Regions from separate parts of the Homo sapiens genome. Here region 2 is linked to region 1. Evidence: promoter capture Hi-C in 16 types of primary human blood cells and fetal thymus (Javierre and others, 2016). All regions are on one chromosome and are shown on one strand. Each heading gives the region's core, a stretch centred on a gene start or on the middle of the fragment in contact. The rest is flanking DNA. Distances are from core to core; before and after follow the strand shown. Region 1 holds the start of KRT25 (keratin 25). Region 2 holds the start of KRTAP9-3 (keratin associated protein 9-3).

Region 1 (2,539 bases), core at 26-2,525:
TGGAGACATAGTCACTAGTCACTGATCAATGACAAATGCTAGCATTCTGGAATTTTGAAGATTTGGCCACAAGAGGCATTTTCAAAGCTTGTTGTATAATAATTATTGTTTCTACTTTGCAGTATTTGACAGAAAAAGAACTAGGGTATTGGGCGCTAGTTTTAATAGCAGTTCATGCTTTGTATTTAATAGTCAAAGCATAAAAAAGTAATAACATCCTGTTTATGTGAAATTCAAGTGTTTTATAATTTTGGAATAAGAGTTGCTAAATTTGATGTAATGCGTTGCATGAATTGCCATGAATTCATTTCACTCTGGCAGTCTACTTACTTGAGTCTGAAATCATCAGCTGTAAGCCTGGCATTATCGATCTGCAGAACAGCATTAGCATTGCTGGTGGTGGATGCGATGATCTAGAAATGGGAATTTGACTTTTATCATGAAGTAAACCAACTGAATCTACTTAATGCTTATTTCTAATGCTAAATTGGAATTCTCTTTAAGAAATCACAAGTAGGAGGGCATGGTGGCAGGCACCTGTAATCCCAGCTACTTGGGAGGCTGAGGCAGGAGAATCTCTTGAACCCAGGAGGTGGAGGTTGCAGTGAGCCAAGATCCCACGGTTGCACTCCAGCCTGGGCAACAAGAGCAAAACTCCTTCTCAAAAAAAAAAAAAAAAAAAAATCACAAGTAGGAATGATAAATGTTTTTAGAATTTAATAAAGAAAGGAAAACAAAATTTAGAAATAAAGGTACATGAAAATGATTGTGCAGTATGATTTCTTACCTGATTTTTAAGGTCATCAATTATTGGGAAATATCTGCTATAGTCATGATCAAGACCACGGCAAGAGCCAGGCCCAAATTTCTCATACCAGCCCTTGATCTTCTGCTCCAGGTCAGCGTTGGCCTCCTCCAGAGCATGCACACTGTCCAGGTAGGATGCCAGGCGGTCATTGAGGTTCTGCATGGTCACCTTCTCATTGCCAGAAAGGAGCCCCCGCTCATTCACAGTGAAGCCAGCACAGGGATTACCTCCCCCTGTGTTTCCTCCCGATGAGCTGCCTCCGAAGGCACTAGAGAAGCCACTTCCAATCCCTGAAATGCCACAAGAATTTCCAGTACCAAAGCTGGTTCCCCCACCATAGAGTCTGAGTGATCCAGTGGTGGGACGAGGACAGGACCTCCTGGATGCACTGGAAAGTCGAAGAGACATGGTATCAGGGCAAACGCGTTGCAGAGCTGTATTTGTGAAAGCCAGAATGGAGTGCCTTCTTGTCTAAAAGGTTTGGTTTGCCTTTTTATAGGCAAGTCCCAAGTGTGTTCTGAATGAAATTCTGCCTACACAGAGTAAAACATGGCTTGCCAGTCTCAGCAAGTTGGCATAATTGGGTGATTTTTTCTAATTAGTAACTCACTTTGCTGGGCTCATTCCTGTAGGAGGGCAGTTGCCCTCAGGTTGGTGGTTATCTGAGAAATGGGTCTGGGTGGAGCAATGTCAGGTTCATTATTACGTTTTTAAATGCTGAGTGAGTCATTCTTCACTTCCATCCTTGGAAGTAAACCTCATCAGCTCATTACAGGATAGAAATTTAGCATCATGGTTTTGGGCTATTATGCCAAGGCAGATTGTGATGTTTCTGAGGCTTTTTCTGCTTTTATTTTCACAAGTTTTTCCACATAAGTAGAGAATAGAACTGTAATCATTTCCCCAACCTGGTTCTTCAACCAATAGGTTTTTGTTTTTATTTTTAAATTCCTCTTGCCACTCTTTCCCATGGGAAGTTAACTTCCATTCTGGCTGACATGAGCATCATATTCTGTTGACACTTATGACTGAGGAGAGTTGTCTTACCTTATCCATTTTGGTAATTAGGAGCACACCCCTAATTGGTGTTATGTTTTGTGGGAGTTTGGAAAGACATTAACTTATTTCCTGACCCTGCAAAATCTGAAGCAAACCTGGTAGGAACTATTTTTTCTGTCTTAATTTATTGTGGTTTAGCTCAGATGAAAGTCATCAGTAAGGTATTTAGTCGGTGGGAATTCACATATATTTACTGAAAACTCTACCTATTATGGAAATATAAAAAATTGACAAATAAGGCCAGGCACAGTGGCTTACGCCTGTAATCCTAGCACTTTGGGAGGCTGAGGCAGGTGGATCACTTGAGGTCAGGCATTTGAGACCAGCCTCACCAACATGGTGAAACCCCATCTCTACTAAAAATACAAAAATTAGCCAGGCATCATGGCGAGGTGCCTGTAATCCCAGCTACTCGGGAGGCTGAGGCAAGAGAATCAATTGAACCTGGGAGGCAGAGGTTACAGTGAGCTAAGATTGTGTCACTGCACTCCAGCCAGAGTGACAGAATGAGACTCTGCCTCAAAAAAAAAAAAATGAGAAATAAAAATTGTATATATTTATGGTGCACGACATGATTTTTTGATATATGAATATATTGTGTAATGACCAAATCAAGCTAATTAACATATCTATTACCTCACATACCTATTTTGTGGTAAGAACATTTAAAAT
Region 2 (2,539 bases), core at 27-2,526, 480 kb after region 1:
ATCTACTGGATTATAACTTGATAGAGTGATTAGCTGTTTGGAAATGAGTAAGCGGATATAATTGGGAGAGAATGGCATTAATTTCTATTTCCTAACCTGGTAATGGGGACATAGATGTATTTACAATGTAATACTATATCAGGTTGGAAATTAATAATTTGCATTCTTCTCAAGTGAATGATATACCTAGACAATGTTTTCAACATGTTAGAACTCCACGATGAATCAGGTGTCATCTCAACTCATCTAATCCCTTCATTGAAAAGAAATAGAAGAAATTACTTCTACTTACTTCTTCTTCTAGTTACTGCTAGTAACTAGGTTTAGGGCTAGAGCCACAGCACATGCTGGTTGGCCTGAATTTCAACGCTTACTTCTAGTTACTGCTAGTAACTAGGTTTAGGGCTAGAGCCAGAGCACATGCTGGTTGGCCTGAATCTCAAGAAGTTACGTGATAGAAAGTCCTCCATTCTCATCCCGGAAATCCCCACACTCCCAGACAAGTCAGAATGAATGGTCGTCCTAGGGCATACATTGCTTGATGCTGTCTAAATCTCAGCAGATTTCTCTGCATCCACCTGTTCTCGATCTGCTCTGTCGCATGGAACACACTGTGCAGTCACCGTCTTCCCAAGTGACATTCAAAGAACTGAAAGACACAGATGATGTGGGTGGCACAAAGAGATGCCTGTTAGTCTTGAGTCAGAATTTGGTGGGTGAATAGTCTTGGGCCCAGGCATGGATTCATTTTGTCACTGTAAATATATCAGCATCATGCTTCTCCCCACAGACACTTCCAAGTCTATATACAGCCAAACATGAGGCTGGCCAGAGAGAACTTCCTGAGCCCCCCGGATCAACAGGAACTGTCACATGACCAGATGATGGTCAGAGCAGGAATGATGCTGATGATGAGACGGGCTTCCTTTTATCTGAAACAAACTTTCTATGAGTAACTCACAATTAAGAAACAGATTAAACCCTTAGTTTAAAAGGTTCATAAGATTTCAGTAACAACTTCCCCTTTGACAATCCCAAATGGACTGTGGAAAACAATGTAAACAGCAACAAGGAAAAGTCCTGCTGATTGGTGGAAACTTTGGAGGCCAGGTGTATAAAAGGTCCAGATTGCAAGGGGTCATCAGATTTTGGGAAACTCACCTCTTAACAGAAGCCCACCCTCCATCCCTGACACCATGACCCACTGTTGCTCCCCTTGCTGTCAGCCTACCTGCTGCAGGACCACCTGCTGGCAGCCCACCACTGTGACCACCTGCAGCAGCACACCCTGCTGTCAGCCCTCCTGCTGTGTTTCCAGCTGCTGCCAGCCTTGCTGCCACCCAACTTGCTGTCAAAACACCTGCTGTAGGACCACCTGCTGCCAGCCCATCTGTGTGACCAGCTGCTGCCAGCCTTCCTGCTGTAGCACACCCTGCTGCCAGCCCACATGCTGTGGGTCCAGCTGTGGTCAGAGCAGCTCCTGTGCACCTGTGTACTGCAGAAGAACCTGCTACCACCCCACAAGTGTTTGTCTGCCTGGTTGCCTAAACCAGAGCTGTGGCTCCAACTGCTGCCAGCCCTGCTGCCGCCCAGCCTGCTGTGAGACCACCTGCTGCAGGACCACTTGTTTCCAGCCCACCTGTGTGTACAGCTGCTGCCAGCCTTCTTGCTGCTAATCAACTCCCAAGAGAACTACCATCCTCACACAACAACCTTCAGCTCAACTGACTTGTCTTTTGAGGGACTAATTTACTTTGCTGCTGACAGCCACCATGCTCTCACCCAAATTTTTATGAATTCTCTACATGTTTAAAATCTTGGGAATCTGCTTGAGGGAGGGCAGAATACTTCATCCTCATTCCCTCTTTCCTTACACCTTGTGGATCATGTGCCAGCTTCGTCTGTTCTTAATTTGGAGTCATGATCTCAGCTTTGTCTCAAAAATCAAGAGCTTCATTCTTTGCTTCTAAGGAATTTAGGTTTCTGCAACTGATCAATCATCTTTGCAATTATATTTTCATTTTAAATATCCTTCTCATGGTTCTTGTATCCTTCTTTCTTCTTTTCACGATAACTTTGGGTTATGTCTCTGGTAGCAGAGATTCTTACCTATATGTTTCTGAATAAACTCTGAACCATCTTCATCTCATATAGTGTTTTGTTTTATTTGAAAGCATTCCTGATATGGGATTTACACACATATCACATACCATAGGTATTATCCAATTTGATTCTCAAAACAGATGGTCGTGTATTATTAACTCCATTTTTTCAGCTGAGAACAATTTAATGTGTGATGTTATGTAGCTAGTAAAGGGCAGACTCTGGTCAAAGGTGAGGTCCTCTCTTTCTGCCCAAGGACACTTACGTTTAACTCCCAATATAGTAGAAAAGACACTGGAAGTCAGCACTAGCAAGACATGTACTTGAGTTTATTTAACAATGAGAGGAATAATCTGACATATTTGCAGATAACACTTTTGTTCACACACAAAAAAATCCCAAAGTAGTTCCCCACACCTCAGTGAGCAAAGGCTGC

What was found. The method cuts DNA at HindIII sites, captures the fragments that hold promoters and counts their contacts. A CHiCAGO score of 5 or more calls a contact.
Region 2: a fragment that was not itself captured here is called in contact with the fragment with the promoter of KRT25 in region 1 in 1 of 17 cell types (M1 macrophages); the score reaches 5.8 in M1 macrophages.

What each region holds. Positions count from the first base shown.
Region 1 is chr17:40,754,056-40,756,594 of GRCh38, forward strand. KRT25 (keratin 25) reads right to left here and starts at 1,276. Exons shown (of 8, transcript NM_181534.4): 1 at 788-1,276; 2 at 331-413. The coding sequence starts at 1,216. The HindIII fragment of the contact is 3,727 bases long and covers 86-2,539 here.
Region 2 is chr17:41,231,306-41,233,844 of GRCh38, forward strand. KRTAP9-3 (keratin associated protein 9-3) reads left to right here and starts at 1,144. Exons shown (of 1, transcript NM_031962.3): 1 at 1,144-2,149. The coding sequence starts at 1,197. The coding sequence ends at 1,676. The HindIII fragment of the contact is 5,484 bases long and covers 1-2,539 here.